Linked DNA regions of Homo sapiens: region 2 is linked to region 1. The links are contacts of gene promoters, found by promoter capture Hi-C in blood cells and fetal thymus (Javierre and others, 2016). All regions are on one chromosome and are shown on one strand. Each heading gives the region's core, a stretch centred on a gene start or on the middle of the fragment in contact. The rest is flanking DNA. Distances are from core to core; before and after follow the strand shown.

Region 1 (5,805 bases), core at 3,306-5,805:
GGCGGGTGCCTATAATCCCAGGTACTCGGGAGGCTGAGGCAGGAGAATCGCTTGAACCCAGAAGGCAGAGGTTGCAGTGAGCCGAGATTGTGCCACTGCACTCCAGCCTAGGTGACAGAGTGAGACCCTGTCCCCCACGCCCCCCCCCCCAAAAAAAAAGGATGGAAGCGGAGGAGTCAGAGAGGTTGGATTCAGAGGTTGGAGTGATGTGGACCACGAACCAAGGAATGTGGGGACCTCGTGGTCCACAAGGAGTGTCGGTGCCTCATTCCCTGCTTCGTGGTCCTCATCACTCCAACCTCTGAATCCTCCGAGGTAGAAAAGGCAAAAATCGGGTTCTCCCCAGGAGGCTTCAGAAGGAACACAGTCCTATTTGTGACTACAAGATAATAAATACGTTGCCAGGTGTGGTGGCTTGAGCCTGTAATCCCAGCATCTTGGCAGGCTGAGGCAGGAGGATGGCTTGAGCTCAGGAGTTCAAGACCAGCCTGGGCAACATAATGTGACCCCGTCTCTACTAAAAAAATTGTTTTAATTAGCCGAGCGTGATGGTGCGTGACTATAGTCCCAGCTACTTGGGAGGCCAAAAGAGGAGGATCACTTGAGCCTAGGAGTTCGAAGCTGCAGTGAGCTATGATTGTGTCATTGCACTCCAGTCTGGGCAACAGGGTGAGACCCTGTCTCAAAAGAAAAAGAAGTGCTGTTTTAAGCCACCACATCGGTAATATTTTTATAGCAGCAATAAGAAACAAATACACTTGGGTTTCTGATATTCTAGAAGTTGCTATTCTGATGGATCGGCCCACTGTGCTTCTCTCTGGCTTCTGACAGCCTCAAGTGAGCAGTTATTTTTCTCTTCTATTCAGTGGGACTCAGGTCTAGCTGCTGGAAACTTATTAGCTGTAGGAATCCCACAGGTAGCAAAAAGGCAGGGGTCTCAGGTCCTGTGGGCATGTGCTTCTCAGCAAGAGGCCTCCGCCACCCAGCCTTGAGGGCAGGGCACAACAGCCCCAGCCGCCCACTCGCTCCCTCCCCAGCCCCCGCAGTCTTGAGGCTGATGCTGAAAGGAACCCCTGAAGTCTACAAAGAACCAAGTCCTCCCTGGATTCTCCAATCCCAGGGCCTTGTCCCTGGTCTTGGGGGCTCCCTGGGGCAACACAACCCATTGATGAGAGAGACTTTGGATCTCTGGCTCTCTCAACAGACCCCAAGGCCTAGTCCACACCCCACGTGCTCCACGTCCCAGCAGCCACGTGGTTCCATGCCCCATTCAGGCCGCCATTTCCCAGAATCCCTAGACACAATCTCACTTAATCCTCCCAGCAGCCTTATGGAGGTGTGTGATCTCCCTTTTCCAGGTGAGGAAACAGGCCCGAGAGGGTGAGTGCCCTATTTGACAACCCCTCTTGCTATCCAGCCAGAATGGTTCCTCTAGTACCCCTTCTGGAGGCCTGGCTGTACAGGTGTCCCTCAGGGACACACACCCCCACTCGACTCTGGGGGCCCAGCCCATCCTAATCCCCACCCCGGGGCTTCCCACCCCCCATCATACACTCTCCACATCTTCTGTGGCTGCAACAACCTTTTCACTTGGCCAGTTGGAGCTACTGACTGCTCACACAGGGTTTTAACGAAAATCTATGGTGTGCCTATTAGCTAGGGAAACATTTATTCTGGTGTTGTCAGAGAACCTTGGACAGAAAAGCTCCTCTTGATGTGTGCACTGCACATATGTGGATGCGTGTACATGCACGTGTCTGTGTGCCTCTATGCATGTGCAGACGTGTTTTTGTCTGTGCATGCATGTGCCTACACACACACATGAACACATCTTTTGTTATTAAAGATCTGTCAGAAGAGTGTCCTGGGTAACTCTAACCCATGTGGGACTGCAGAGAAGAAAAAAACCCACACCTTTTTTTGTCACAGCCATCAATGGTCCTTGGGTTTGTGTGCCCCCAAATTGAGATTATTTTTCCACCTGAGAAGGGGAGTGAGTGATAGCTACCATTTGCCAGGTCTCACCTCCTTTTACCCTCTGGAAAACCTAATAAGAAAAGTGATTTCTTTTTTTAAGCTCTGGAAAACTCCAGCCCCAGGGGGCCTTCTGTTCCTCAAAGCCTCCAAATTCTCCCTGCCTTGAGGTATGTGCTGTCCCCACTGCCTGGAGCCCCCTTTGCAGACTCTGCTTGGAGGAGCCCACCTGCGCCCCTGTCTGAGGCTGTCACCTGGCCACTGCCATGCCTCTGTCTCATCCCTGCATGAGATCCGTCACTGCCTGCAACTGTCTGGGTTGTGCATTTGTTTACTTTCTCCTTGTCCATCTTCCCCTCGCACTTACGCACCTCAAGGGAAGGGAATTTGTTGCTTTGCGCTGGGCTCGATGAAGGGGAATGAATGCTGGTTCAGCCATCAGCCCCGCACCCACACTACTGGGAGGGCAGAGGGACATTCTCCTTCTTAGAGGTGTGGCCTCTGGCACTCAGGCCTGCCACCCACGGACACTAAATAACCACAATGATTCCAAGCCCCGAGTTCTTGCTCCCTGAATCCCAAGGCTGTCTTTAAGGGCACAGGAAGATGGCCATCTTTTGTTGTTTTGGTTTAGTTTGGGGTTTTTTTGGTCTTTGTTTTTGAGATGGAGTCTTGCTCTGTCGCCCAGGCTGGAGTGCAATGGCACGATCTCGGCTCACTGCAACCTCCGCCTCCTGGGTTCAAGCAATCCTCCTGCCTTAGCCTCCCAAGTAGCTGGGAGTACAGGCATGTGCCACAACGCCCAGCTAATTTTTGTATTTTTAGTAGAGATGGGGTTCTGTCATGTTGGCCAGACTGGTCTTGAACTCCTGACCTCAGGTGATCTACCCGCCTCGGCCTCCCAAAGTGCTAGGTGTGAGCCAACATGCCCGTCCTTTTTTTTTTTTTTTTTTTTTTTGAGTCAGAGTCTCACTCTGTCGCCCAGGCTGGAGTGCAATGGCGCTATCTCGGCTCACTGCAACCTCTGCCTCTCGGCCTCAAGCGATTCTCCTGCCTCAGTCTCCTGAGTAGCTGGGACTACAGGCCCGCGCCACAACGCCTGGCTAATTTTTGTATTTTTAGTAGCGACAAGTTTCATCATGTTGGCCAAGGTCGTCTTGAACTCCTGACTCAAGTGATCCACCCGCCTCAGCCTCTCAAAGTGCTGGCATTTCAGGTATAAGCCACTGCACCCAGCAGGAAAGCTGTCTTCAGTAAAAGTATTATATAATGACACCTTGCATTCTGAGAGCAGCTGCTGTTTTCAAGGCTCTTAAAGAGCCTGGACTCTGGAGACAAAGGGGCCTCCAGAGGGGTCCACGCCTAGCTCCATCACTGTGTGACCCTGGGCAGCTCACTTCGCCTCTCTGAGCTTTTGTTTCCGCATCTGTAAAATGGGGGCATGGATGATGAGGTGGTCCCCACCCTCTAGGGTGGCTGGAAAATTATGTGTGGGAGCCATGAGCACATAGTGTCCGGCACGTGCCAGTGCTCAGTCAATGAGATTTGTCATTTCTTCAGTCAACAAATATTTATTTTTGAGCTGCTGCTGTGTGCATCATGAGCTGGGAGCTGGGGAGACAGTCAGTGGTGAGGGAAACTAAAGTGATCCCTGCCCTCTGAGCTGACGCTCCACAGATGCTGAAGAAAATGAGTCAGTGCACTGTGGGCAGTGTTCGGGACTGCCTCACGCTGTGCAGAGAAACAAAGAAGGGAGATCGGAGCGCAGGAGGTGCGTGGCTGTGTTATTTGTTTGTTTTGAGACAGGGTCTTGCTCTGTCACCCAGGCTGGAGTGCAGTGGTGTGATCGTGGCTCACCACAGCCTCAACCTCCCGGGCCCAAGTGATCCTCCTGTCCCAGCCTCCTGAATAGCTGAGACTATAGGCATGCACCACCACGCACAGCTATTTTTTTTTCTTTTGCGTAGAGACAGGCATCTCCCTATGTCACCCAGGCTGGTCGCAAACTCCTAGGCTCAAGCAATCTTCCCGCCTCGGCCTCCCGCCGTGCTGGGATTTCAGGCATGAGCCACAGTGCCAGCCTTCATGGTTATTTTAAAGATGGTGGTCGGGGAGGCTTCACTCAGGAGATGACATATGAGCAAAGATGCAGTGAAGGAGGTGAAGGAAGGAGCCGTGCGATGACTGACAGAAAGACATTCCAGGTAGAGGGCACACAGGTGCAAAGACCCTGAGGCCAGATCCAGGCTGATAAAACAGAGCATTTTAGCAGTCTCCTCTCCCTGCCATTTTTTTTCTCAAAATTGACAAGCACAAGTGTCCCCGGCCCAAGCACCGCAGAGAGCGCGCAGCATCTCTCCCCGTGACCATGACCCAGCTACTGCCTCTTTAACCTTGAATGCCTTTTTGGGGGCTCACGTGTCACCCAGTGGCGAGTGAGCCACCCTTACTTCAGAAGAACGGCATGGGGTGGGGGGGCCTTAGGTGGTGCCCGCCTCACCTATGACTGCCAAAAGCGGTCATGGGGTTATTTTTAAACATGGGGAGGAAGTATTTATTGTTCCTGGGCTGCAGAGAGCTGGGCGGAGTGTGGAATTCTTCTCGGGAGGCAGTGCTGGGTCCTTTCCACCATGGTGAGTACAAGGGCTCCAGGAGGTGATGATGCCGGGTGGGCGAGGAGAGGAAGCCACTACAAGCGAGGGACCACGGCGGAGGGGGAGGAAGGCGGCCCTCAAAGCCTCCAGCCCCTTGTGGAAAAAGCCCCATTGACTGCGCGGGCACAGAGGAACCCCAATCAATGCCCCGATAGGCCACAAATAACAGCAGCTCTCGGGGACTCACAAACACAAAATAAGAGAGTTGGCTTTTTTATGGCTTGTCTACTGACCTCTCGAGGAATCAATAACTCCCAGGACTTGCAAAATGGGATTGAATGCTTTTAAGGATCAAATTGTAATTCTTTTCTCTTGTTCAGGCAGCTGGGAAAAAGAATGTTTTTGTTTTCACCTTTTGAACTTGCAAATTTAAAACCTTTCTTTCTGTGCTGTTGGGTTAGGTGTCCCCCTCCTGAAGTGGGCAGTCCCCAAATCAGGGTCAGCACAGGAGGGAGAGTGGTTAGAGGCAGGAACTCTGGAGTCAGAATGCCCAAGTTCAACTCCCCAAGTTCAACGCCCAAGTTCAACTCCGGCTCTGCCTTCTGTGTGTGTGGCTGTGTGATCTTGGGCAAGTGACCCAACCTCTCTGAGCCTCAGTTGCCTCTCCTGTAAAATGGGGATGATAATAATAGTATCCACTTGACAGAGTGGTTATGAGAATTAAATAATACATATGTAGAGTACCGAATCATTTGCTGTTATTGAAAGTCAGAGAGAAGTGGGGTGGGGAAGAAAGGTCAACTCGCTCTTCTCTGCCCTATTGATGTGGTGCAAGGACGGAGCATTCAGAGAGGAGGTTTTGCTGCCATTTGGAGCAAGGGAAAATTGTGGGGTGTGGGGCGCAGTTGGGTTTTAACACCTTGAAGAACTGTCATTTCATCTTGGCATTCATCATGGCTTAGTGAGCCTGACTTTTTCTTTCCCTCCAATCAATTCTCCTTCTGTGCATTACTGAGCTTTTTGTGAAATGCATCAGAACAAAAGTGGCTGGATCCTGCAGGGGCGATCTGAAGGTGTGGCCTCCATCCCCAGGGACACACCTGTGGCTTCTCCTAGTTGGTGAAGGAGCCACTGCAAGATGCACAAACGCTTATGATCCACTGGTACCAGAGGGCTCTGGAGAAACTTCATGTCATGTCCTTTGCTCCCTCCAGCATCACCGTTTGGAGACCTGAGT
Region 2 (5,556 bases), core at 36-2,535, 240 kb before region 1:
CTACACACACGTCCCGAATACGCCCAGATGCCCGCACACACATGCTTGCCCATACACACTCTGACACGCACCCTGCACACACAGGCCAGACACACCTATCTCTGACTGGTCTGATTCCTCAGCCTTAGGGGGTCCATTTAATAGCCCTCCAAACCATGGCATGCTGTTTCTTTGCAGAATCACAATTTGTAATTCTTCTATCACAACTTGTTGACATGCTTAGCAAATGTCCCCCTAGCCCCGTCCTATGCTGCCTGTCCCAGGAGACATTCTTCTGTTCATTGCTGTATTCCCAGCGCCCAGCACCCAGCAGGAGCTCAATGAATATTGAAGGAAAGAAGGAATCATCCCCTAACTCCTTTTGCTTTTTTTGTAGTTGTTGTTTTGTTTTGTTTTTAAGATAGTCTCACTTTGTCGCCCAGGCTGGAGTGCAGTGGTACAATCTCGGCTCACTGAAACCTCTGCCTCCCGGGTTCAAGCGATTCTCCTGCCTCAGCCTCCAGAGAAGCTGAGATTACAGGTGTGCATCACCCTCCCTGGCTAATTTTTGTATTTTTAGTAGAGATGGGGTTTCACCATGTTGGCCAGGCTGGTCTCAAACTCCTGACCTCAGGTGATCCACCCGCCTTGGCCTCCCAAAGTGCTGGGATTACAGGCGTGACCCACTGCGCCTGGCCTCCTTTTCTGTTTTTAAATAGGGCTGCACTTGCATGCTTGCCTATGGGTCAAAATGTCCTGAGAAAACAAATAAGAAGTATGTGAATAGCCGGAAGGGGGCTGGAAGTTCAGGAGACTCATTGTTTATTCTGAAATCATTTTTAATGTCTTGATTTTTAAAAATTACAGATCAGTTGCTTATGAAATAATGCATCCTTAAAAAATTAATATTTTTAAATGAGCTACCCAAAAATGTTCTCAAACTGGTCCAGCTTCAGAACCCTTGGGAAGTATTTCTAAAATCCTTGCAGGTGGCTGGGCTCAGTAGCTCATGCCTGTAATTCCAGCACTTTGGGAGGCCAAGGCAGGAGCATTGCTTGGGGTCAGGAGGTCAAGACCAGTCTGGGTAATGTAGTGAGACCCCTCTCTCTAGGAAAAAAAAAAAAAACAGCTGGGCATGGTGGCGCACACCTGTAATCTCAGCTACCTTTGAAGGTTGAGGTAGGCGGGATGACTTGAGCCCAGGTGGCTGGGGTTGCAGCGAGCTACGATCGCGCCACCGCATTCCAGCCTGGGTAACAGAGCAAGACCCTGTTTCCAGCAACAACAACAACAACAACAAAATCCTGGCAGGAGAAGCTGGGTTGGGCTCTCAGGTGGGTACTATCAACACCTGTCTGAGTGGGATGAGGGATCGGAACACCAGCTGGGCTTGAGAAATGGGGGTCCACACAGCCCCTTCCCAGGCCTGAGGGACAGCACCTTGCTCCCATTTCCTGCGCCCCTCTGTGTTCACGACCAGCCTGTCTGTCCATGAAGGAAATAAGTTTTTCTGTGGCTGAGTGTTGTTCCCAAGGCCACACTGCTGCTGTTACATCCAAGAGTACATGGGCAGAGACTGGCTCATGATTTGACAGCTTTTTTCTAGACCCTTCCCAGGAAGGGAAGCTGGGCTGACCGGGCCAAAAATCACAGACTGCCCTCGTATCTTTTTTTTTCTTTAAGTAGAAAGTTTTAATTACATTTATAGCCCTATTCAATATAATAATCTCACAACATTTCCCTTCTCCTAAAGGATTTTTTTGTTTTGTTTTAAATCGTGTAAAACATGCAGGGTCCCCAGGCTGCTGTCACCCATCTTCATGCAGATGCTCCGGGCTTTCAAAACAGCTGTTCCTCCCCAGAGTCCCATTCCCTTCCCCAGCCCAGGCTATCTTTGCACTGCCCACTCACACAATGGCATACTTTCTCCAAGTGTCTGATCATGGCTGAGCTTTTTTTTTTTTTTTTAATAAAAATTAATTCTTTTTTTTTTTTGGTAGAGACTGGGTCTCACTTTGTTGCCCAGGCTGACCTCAAACTCCTGGCTTCAAGAGATCCTCCCACTTTGGCCTCCCAAAGTGCTGGGATTATAGGCATGAGCCACCGCACTTGAGCTCATTCTTCTTAAAAGATGGGGATTGACAGAAAACAACAACAAAAAATCAAAGGTGCTTCCAGTAGGTCATTTGCTATTTGCTCTCCACACCCCACCCATCCTTACCAGGTCCTTCCTGTTTGTGAGGTGAGGAAGAGAGGGGGAAGGGGACTATCCCTGATCCTCCGTTTTCACCTGACATAATTGAAAACTGTTTTTCTATTATCCGTTCCATCGTTGGCCTCCTGCCTTGCCTCTTTTCTTTGAACCTTCCTGATTGCGTCTCTGTGGAATCACATTGGTCCTTTGCACATCTCTCCAGGGATTTGGTTTAATTTTTACATCTTCTGAGGGTCCCAGTTGCTTTACTGATTCCTAAACAATTTCAGGTGGAGACAACATGGCATTCATGTGGTCTCATGGATGTTGTGCTAATCCATGTCTTTGCTTAATGTCTGCAGGAATGGCCAGTGAACATTCCTCTTCAAATACATCTCCTGGAATATCTGTAGCTGTTGCTAAAGCTATACACTACTATCCCTAAGTGATTCTTCATCTTCCCCACTCCCTCTCATCAACCTAAGAATGACTTATGAGGCAGAGATAACAAATATGTAGCATGTGCATGCTCACTGCCACCTCCCGTGTCCATGGTAGACATTACTAATGGATCACCAACTCCTATGCTGCAATCCAAACCATCGATGAATTTGGTCAACTGGACTTTTCATGTAAAGCCCAAATCAAATAAATTCTTATCCATCACCCATCCTCACCTGCAATAACCTTGAACCTGGCCTTTTGGCATCTCTTCCTTCCTCCTTTCCATTGATTCTCTATACACAACCTAGAGTGATTTTTTTTTTAAAGCTGTAATCTTTGAAACATAAACCAGATCCTAGCACTTCCCCAAGGAAAATCCTCCCATAGCTTCTCAATGCATTCAGAATAAGATGCCAACTCTATCCTGTGCTTGAGTTTTGCATGAGCTGGTCTTTTAGTATCTATTACCAGCCTCTCCCAACTAGTGCCTGGCACATAGTAAGTGCTCCAAAATGTTTATAGATTGAATGAGGCTCTCTTTTGCTGATCTAGAATGCAGTCTAAGAATCCTTGTCAACGCAGAGCTCCAGGAAGCTGCCAGTGAATTCTCAGGGTTAGCATGCAAAATGCAGCCTCCCTCAAAGTCTGTTCTGATACTGGGCGATTCTACCCATCTCTGACTATTTGGGAATGAAGCAGTGTGCAAAAAAATCAGTGTAGCCCCCTTGATCAGCTTATTTTCTTTCATAATATGTACAAAGTGTTTTACTCCTGTTTTTTGTTTCTGTTTCTGTTTTTTTTTTTTTTTTTTTTTTTTGAGAGAAGTTTTGCTCTTATTGCCCAGGCTGGAGTGCAGTGGCACAATCTTGGCTCACTGCAGTCTCCGTCTCCTGGATTCAAGCAATTCTCCTGCCTCAGCTTCCCAAGTAGCTGGGATTACAGGGATTACAGGCATGCGCCACCACTCCTGGCTAATTTTGTATTTTTAGTAGAGATGGGGTCTCACCATTTTGGTCAGGCTGGTCTGGAACTCCTGATCTCAAGTGATCCACCTGCCTCAGCCTCCCAAAGTGCTGGGATTACAGGCGTGAGCCACCGCACTCGGCTTTGTTTACTTTTTGTAGTGGAAAATGGTTTGCTAAGGTTGTGCTTTGGGCTCACCAGGCTGCTGAATGGGGTTCCTCAGCTTTGGGCATCTGGTGGCAGGGACCTTCAGGAGTCTTTCCCATGTTTGGACCAGTGCATCAGTGAGGCTGTCACTGCAGAGAAAGACGCTAGGGGTCAGGTGATGGACTGCTGCTTCTTTAGAGCATCACCTTCATGACTGGCTGAGTCACCAGGATGGCTGAAAAACAGGTTCTAGAAAATCAAACATTCTGGAAAGCCCTGGAGGAACCACTGGGAGACAGAGAAAATATTCCGAAATAAGGAGTTTAGAATGGGGATAGTCTCTGAGCCTGCTAACTGGTTTCCTGGGGAACAGGGATGAGGGCAGGAAGAAAAGGGGAACATCTTAGAGCAAAAGGGGAACATTCCTGGTGCTTCCATCAGGTTTCTTGGGAAGCAGGGATGAGGGCAGGAGGGAAAGGATACAGAGCAAGGGAAGAGTAATTAGTGCTATTAATTACATCTCAATCACAGCCTACGTTTCTGCCCCGGGATTAAAGAAACATTCATTTGGAACGACTATTAAAGTCTTAAACTCAATGCTTCACAAATCAGGGCGGTGGAATGAAAATTCTTTCTCTGTAGGGACCAGGAGGCAGAAAGCAAGAATTTTCTATCCAGGTTGCTGCAGTCCAGCTGGAAAAGCCAGGGCTTGTGAGCGGGTTTGCTTGTTATTATTGTTGGCTGGTTTTTATTTTTATTTTTTTTTTTTATTTTTTAAGCTGTTTCAGGCAGGGATGTGTTCCAAATGTACAATCTAATGTGCTATAAAAGTCACTAATGTGATTATACTTTTATATCATATTAGAGAAAATGAATACTAATTCAATACCAAACGCTAATTCGGTAGAACCACAAAATGCTGAGAGGTTGCAAAACACTTGCCAGGCTGAACTTTCCGGCTGGTGCCTGAGAGCGTGTGGTGGCGTTTTCAGGAGTTGGTGTGTGCGGTTTAGTGAATCGGGCAGTCAGAGCTGTCCGGGTCTGCCATTCCCTCTGCAGTGGACAGAGGCTAGGGTGGTTTCCCTGGGAACATATGGGAGAAACCTCATCACCCTGGGAGAAGCTTTCCAATGCTCAGAGGAATTTTCCCAATGAAAATTTTGCAAAATTTTGCAATTTTCATTGGGAGTGCAAGTCTGTTTGGATTTTTAAACTAAGCATGTTGTTTGATGGCATCAGCAATGGGACAAGGTGCTTGTAAATCCAAGTAAAGCTTTTCAAAGAAAGAGCACTAAGAATCATGGCCCAGGAAGTAATATTAATGGCCAACATTTGCTGAACGTTTACTATGAGACAAGCACTGTTTTAAACTCTTTTTTTCCATTCATTCATTCAACCCTCAAGACTACTGTATGAACTAGAGACCCTTTTTGTACCCATTTGACAGATGAGGAAAATGGAGGCTCAGAGAGGTGAAGTGACTTGCTCAAGGTCACACAGCCAGTAAGGAACAGAGCTGGGATGCCAGGCCAGGTTGTCAGCTCCAGAGCTGCATCTTTAATCACTCAACTTAATTGAAGTCAGGCCCACTGACAATTATGTCTTACCTGTATTATCGCGTGTTAACCTGGAGGCAATCCTTAAGGTAGATATGTTCTTATTCCCATCATACAGATGAACAAATTGAGATTTGGAAGTATTGCCTGACTTGCCCCATAGCACCTACCACAGCAGCAGTGACAGAGCCAGGACTCACAACCGCTGTGCTACACAACTGCCCAAGTGCCCCAAAGCAAGGCTGTCATCCCCAAAGGAAGGTCCTCACATCT

The links. The method cuts DNA at HindIII sites, captures the fragments that hold promoters and counts their contacts. A CHiCAGO score of 5 or more calls a contact.
Region 2: a contact is called between a fragment that was not itself captured here and the fragment with the promoter of MYL2 in region 1, in 1 of 17 cell types (M2 macrophages). The highest score is 5.0, in M2 macrophages.

Annotation. Positions count from the first base shown.
Region 1 is chr12:110,919,329-110,925,133 of GRCh38, reverse strand. MYL2 (myosin light chain 2) reads left to right here and starts at 4,555. Exons shown (of 7, transcript NM_000432.4): 1 at 4,555-4,607. The coding sequence starts at 4,605. RefSeq lists an enhancer at 3,747-5,805. The HindIII fragment of the contact is 13,220 bases long and covers 1-5,805 here.
Region 2 is chr12:111,154,864-111,160,419 of GRCh38, reverse strand. All of the region lies in intron 1 of CUX2 (cut like homeobox 2), which reads right to left. Among named protein-coding and RNA genes, the nearest start is that of CUX2, 120 kb to the right of the region's middle. The HindIII fragment of the contact is 7,135 bases long and covers 1-4,852 here.